Linked DNA regions of Homo sapiens: region 1 is linked to region 2. The links are contacts of gene promoters, found by promoter capture Hi-C in human tissues and cell types (Jung and others, 2019). All regions are on one chromosome and are shown on one strand. The core of a region is centred on a gene start or on the middle of the fragment in contact, and the rest is flanking DNA. Distances in the headings are between cores, read along the strand shown.

What was found. The method cuts DNA at HindIII sites, captures the fragments that hold promoters and counts their contacts. A contact is called where the count stands out against the background at its distance.
Region 1: the fragment with the promoter of PYGM here is called in contact with the fragment with the promoter of MACROD1 in region 2 in 1 of the 25 tissues and cell types used here (small bowel).

Annotation. Positions count from the first base shown.
Region 1 is chr11:64,758,660-64,761,694 of GRCh38, forward strand. PYGM (glycogen phosphorylase, muscle associated) reads right to left here and starts at 1,315. Exons shown (of 20, transcript NM_005609.4): 1 at 997-1,315; 2 at 1-45. The coding sequence starts at 1,239. RefSeq lists enhancers at 1-20, 21-724, 725-1,429, 1,430-2,132. The HindIII fragment of the contact is 11,504 bases long and covers 1-3,035 here.
Region 2 is chr11:64,164,717-64,167,416 of GRCh38, forward strand. It overlaps MACROD1 (mono-ADP ribosylhydrolase 1), which reads right to left and starts at 1,397. Exons shown (of 11, transcript NM_014067.4): 1 at 981-1,397. The coding sequence starts at 1,278. LOC105369339 (a long non-coding RNA gene) reads left to right here and starts at 1,522. Exons shown (of 3, transcript XR_950187.3): 1 at 1,522-1,873. RefSeq lists an enhancer at 916-1,416 and silencers at 954-1,053, 1,184-1,263, 1,524-1,783. The HindIII fragment of the contact is 20,905 bases long and covers 1-2,700 here.

The sequences.
Region 1 (3,035 bases), core at 65-2,564, 590 kb after region 2:
TAGCGTCCGTCCCATATAGAACTCTAAAGACAGGTAGTAGATCCTCTGCCCAGAGAGACGGATGGGCAGGGAATGGGGTCAGGGCCACACACCAACACTCAGCCAGGCCCAGCCACGCCTGGACCTCTGGCCCGCCTGCCCTGCTCAGCAGTCCCATCCCTGTCCCCAATTTGTTTCTCCCTGTCTCAGGCTTTGGGGCCCAGCGGTTAAGGTTCTGGTCCCAGCATTCCTCTGACTTTGGACAAATCACTCTCTTTGGCCTCAGTCTCCTCATCTGGGAAATAGCGCTGGCCATACCCACTTCAGGGACTGAGGTACTCGGGAGAATGGGCACCCCTTCCCCCTGCACACACCCCCAGAGAAAAAAGTCATTTGCTCAAGGTCACACAGTGGCTAGAGACTGGGCTAGAGACTGTCACCTCCCATCCTTGCACTGTCCAGTTCCCCTTGGCCCTCAAGCCTCAATCCCAAGGAGACCCAGAGGCACCAGAAACTAGGATGCTGCCAGTGCCTGGTCTCCCAGTTTCCTGGGTCCCCTCCTGGGCCGTCTGCCCGCCCCTCCCCCACTCCCCACCGAGGCGTGTCAGGTTGCTGACATTTACCAGTGACCCCACCGGACACTTGATCTCTGCCGCCCCAGCTGCCCCAGCCCCGCCTGCTGCACAGGCACACCGCGCATACATGCAGCAACTGATGTGTCCTTCCACCTGGGCCCAGCCAGGCCACAGGCGCCGTCCTGCCCACCAGCACCCACTCCAACCTTCTCCGAGTGGGCACTGACCCTTTGCAGCCAGCCCACCTGCTCTGAGCTCCCTGACCCCCACTCCTGCCCCAGGTTTCTCCCTCAGATTGTCCCAGCACCCCTTGTGCCTGGCACCCCTGGATTCTCCACCCCCAAGAACCTAGAGTGACGAGGGGCAGCCACTTAAGTCAAGATCGCCAGCTCCCTGGCAGCGCCTTCAGCCCATACCCCCACCCCAGGCTCCCCAGCAGCACCTTGGGGTCCTTCTCATAGTAGTGCTGCTGCGTGCGGATCCAGCGCCCCACGAGGTGGTCGCGCACGGTATGGGCCAGAGCAAAGTAGTAGTCTCGTGGGGTGGCCACATTGCGGTCCTTTACGAGTGTGAAATGCAGGTGCCGGTTGAAGTTCTTTTTCAGCTCAGTCACGTTCTCCACGCCGGCCAGGCCACGCACACTGATTTGCTTTCTTTTCTCTTGGTCTGACAGGGGCCGGGACATGGCTGCAGGAGGGCGGGCCGGACTGGACTGATGGTAGAGGGGACGGCGGCCTCAGCACTGCCTCCAGCCAAGGAGTGGAGCTCCCCAGCCTCAAGGGGATTTAAAGCCTGGCTCTGGGCAGCACGCCCCGCCTCCCCTGCAATGGGAGGGTCTTGGCCTGGCAGCTCAGGGAGCTATTTTGAGGGCAAGGGGAGGAGAGGAGAGGGGAGGGAGAGGTGAGCTCCACTTGGGCCGCCAAGACTGGCCTGGCTTGTTCACAGGCCTGTGCTGACCCACTTCCTCCAGGCCTTGCACATGGTCTTCTGTCCCTTGTCCCTGCCTTTTGGAGGGTTGGATACAAGAAGGAGCAGGCAGAGTGCTGGATTGGGGAGCTGTCTGTCAGTGGCTGAACCAGGATGGGAGGCCATGTGTTGTGGCAAAAGGAACCAGGACCCCCTGCAGGCTGTGGTGCAGGAGCCAAGTCAGTGTCCCCTGACGGAAGAGGTGCAACTAGCAGAGGCCACTGGATGTCTTTGAGAAAGGGGCCCACGACCCTGCATTGCAGGGGTGGTGTGAGGGAGGTTGTGTGAGGCAGGGCCACAGCCCTCACTCCACCCCCACCGAAGCTGAGCAGCTCTAGGCTCCCCCTGTTGCTGTCCCTCAAGGAGCCCTGAAGTGACCTTTTGGAGAGGGATGCTCAGGTTACTGGCCAGCATTGGCGGGAGGCCGCTAGCCTGCAGCACGGGGCCCTGGGAACTGTAGTCCTATAGGCCCTCGGCGGTGGGAGAAACTGAGGCATTCCCCACTCCATCATCATACTGGTTTAATGACAGTAAGTTCTCCCTGTGATTCCACTGCTTAGGAAGTGATTAGAGGCCTTCTTTCACTTCTTCCTGCCACCTGGGGCCACACTCTGAGCAGGATTTTGTAAACCAGCTCTGTGACCTGGCCTATAAAATGGGTGCCTAATCTGTACCTCGAGGACCTCACCCCATTTGTGTGCATAGCCCCACAGCTTTGAGCCCTTCCCTGGAGGCTTTGGCTATCCTCCCATTCACTGCTGTGTTCTGGCCCCAGCACTGACTTGCTGTGTGACCTCAAGCTGGTTGCTTTACCTTTCTGAGCTTTGGATTCCTTCACCAAATTTAGACTCTCCAATGAGAAAAAAAAAAATCCCTGCCTCTCAGCTGCTGCCTCCTCATCTTGTGAGGGCAGGCTTCGGATCCTGCTGTTCTTTAAGAGAAAGGAACCAGGACCTTGTGCTAGTTCAAAGGCTGTTTGGGCCTCCCGGGTGGTGGGCCGGTGGAGGGGAAGAGCTGGGTGTTCTGTTCTGAAGGCCAAGGAAGCAGGTCAAAAGCCTGGACAGCTGCAGGATACTATTGAGAGCCTGGTTCGGAGAAAGCCAAGCTGTTTCTGAGAACTTTTTTTTTTTTTTTTTTGAGGTAGAGTTTCATTCTTGTCGCCCAGGCTAGAGTGCAATGGCATGATCTCAGCTCACTGCAACCTCCGCCTCCTGGGCTCAAGCAATTCTGCCTCAGCCTCCTGAGTAGCTGGGATTACAGGCACCCACCACCATGCCCAGCTAAGTTTTGTATTTTTAGTAGAGACGGGGTTTCACCATGTTGGACCAGGCTGGTCTGGAACTCCTGACCTGAGGTGATCCGCCCACCTTGGCCTCCCAAAATGCTGGGATTACAGGCATGAGCCACAGCGCCCGGCCTCCGATCACTTTCTGAGCCATGGCAGACCCAGCCCTGGAATCACCGGCTTAGTATGTGGGCCAAACTTCAAGTCCTACAGAGGTCTCCAGGCTCCCA
Region 2 (2,700 bases), core at 147-2,646:
CATCCTGCCTGCCCAGCCCAGAGGCCACACCTACTCCACCACGGAGGCCCAGCCAATTAGCCACTTCCCTGCACTTTTGAAAGGGGATCCAGCCGGGAAGAGTCACAGGATCCCAGGAGGCAGGCCCTGAAAGGCAGGGGCAGCTGGGTGCCCGGCAGGGCTATTTGGGGCTCAGTAGCGGCAGCTTGGGTTCTCTCTCTCCCCAGGCCCCAGACTCATGCCCCCTCCAGGAGCAAGAGGAAGTGGTGTGATTCTTGAAGGGTGTCATCAGTTGTCACAGGGACAAGACCCCACCTCTGCCCTGCTCCTCTAACCTCTGTTCCTGGCATGAGCAAACTGCTCACAAGTGGCCAGAGGCCAGCGAGAAGGGGAAAAGGGCGCCAGACCACGTGCCCAGGAAGGCATCAGAGTGCGGGCTTGGGGTGGGGTGGAGGCAGGACAGGCCAGCCCAGGAAGGTCACTCTGTGAGGTTACGTGCCCCACCAGGTGGGACGCCAGCCCCGGAGCTGTTCCCTCAGCCCCATTCCCGAACACTTAAGAACCACACTGTGCAAAGTTTGGAGAGTCCGGGATCATAACCTCCACTTTGCCACCAGCTCCGAGTGACCTTGGGGAAGCCAGCTGTGGCACTCGGCCTCAGTTTCCCTCCTGCACAGGGAAGGAAGTTGGTAGGTCCTGCACAATCTCTGGGGTGCCCTGTGACCCATTCCAATGGGGTAAGGAAGGCCGCCTTCCTCACGCTGCCCCCTGCGTGGACACTTGGACCTGGTCTGGAGTGAATTGTTCTGTGGGGCTGGGAACACGCGCGGGGGCGGGGGGGGCTGTCAATGGGGAGGAGGGGTCCGTTCCAGGGCAGATGGGGCCTCAACTTCCCCAGGTCTCTCGGGTGGAAGGGGCTGCTCGCTCGTTGGGGGCCGCCCAGCCGGGAAGCTCCACGTGAGGCCGCCCTCTCCCTCGCGCCCCCTCGTGCTTACACTTACATTTCGCCTCCTTCCAGTCGGTGGAGGTGCTCAGGTCCACCTTCGCCGCCATGGCCAGGGGGGCCCAAGTGCGCACCCCGGCTGTCCGCCCCACCGCCGCCGCCCCCCACGCCCCAACTCCCGCCGAGGTCCGCGCACGGCGGCCGAACACGCCCAGGAACGCCGGGGGACCGCACGTGCTGCTGCGGGTCCTCGTGGCACCCGCCAAGTGTCCGGGCCGGGGGCGCGGGGGGACGAGCAGCTGCCCCGCCGCGCGCAGCTGTGCCAGGCGGCCGGACAGTCGGCTCTGTAGAGACATGAGCGGGCGGCGCGGGACGGCTCTCCGCCCACTTGGACTCTATTTACGGCGCTCGGGAGTGTCTCTCCCTTATTTACTCTGGGACCGGGTGGCGACTGCCAGCCAGCGGCGACCTGCTCGGAGCCAGCGGGAGGCGCGGCCAGAAAACCCGGGAGCGCCGCTGGGCACCCTGGAACTTGTAGTCCGGGCCGCCGGATGGGCCCACGCACTCGTATACACACGTGCGCGCCCGCCCGGGCTCCCAGTGTCGCGGATGGAGCCCCGCCTGAGCCCTTCGACTTCTCCCGTGGCCGCCAGGCGCCTCCCCTCCGCGAGACCTCGGCCGCCTCTAACTTTCTGGTTGGCTGAGCGTCGGCTTCCCCGGCACGGGCTGAAGCCCCCGGGCCTTCCACGCAGCCCCGGGCCCCTCTGCCGCTCGGCCCCGCGGCGGAGCAGGCGCGCCGGCCGCTGCGTATCGAGCTGGGAGAGCCTGGCGCGGCTTCCGCAGTGCCGAGCGTTTTGCAGCCTGGGAGACCCGGGCTTCTCTCCCCGCGGGTCAGCAGGGCACCGCCTCCACACCCCAGCCTGCCCTCCTAGGGACAGGTGCGACGAACGGGTAAATCCGGTTTGGGGACTTCTCCCCAGAGCCTCTGCCTTCTAACAGCCCCGGGGCCAAGGCTCAGCTGGAGCAGAATCTAGGACAGCTGGGGAGGAGAGTCGAGGGTGGAAATAGTGGAATTTGGAGGCAGGAAACTTAGGCTTCAAGTGGCGTTCAAGGGTGGAAGGATTGGGGTGATGTTTTTGTGTGTGTCTGTGTGTTTTTTTTTTTTTTTCTTTTCTTTTTTAAACAAAAACCGGCCGGGCGCGGTGGCTCACGCCTGTAATCCCAGCACTTTGGTAGGCCGAGTTGGGTGGATCACGAGGTCAGGAGTTCGAGGCCTGCCTGGCCAACATGGCGAAACCCCGTCTCTACTAAAAATACAAAAATTATGCAGGCGTGGTGGTGCATGCCTGTTAATTACAGCTACTCGGGAGGCTGAGGCAGGAGAATCACTTGAACCCGGAAGGCGGAGGTTGCGGTGAGCCGAGATCGTGCCATTGCACTCCAGCCTGGGTGACAGAACGAGACTCTGTCTCAAAGAAAACAAAACAAAAAACACGAGGATGGATTTTTAAGTACTTTTATATATTTTTATGTACTATTAATATTACTTTATGATAAATATAATGAATACAGGCCGGGCCATTATAATAATATAATGAATGTAATAATGAATAATGAATAAGTGCTCACACCTGTAATCCCAGCACTTTGGGAGGCTGAGGCAAGAGGATTATTAGAGGCCAGGAGTTCAAGACCAGCCTGGGCAATATAGTGAGACCCCCTCATCTCTACCCGCCCCCACACAAAAAAATTACCCTGGTATGGTGGTAGACACTCAC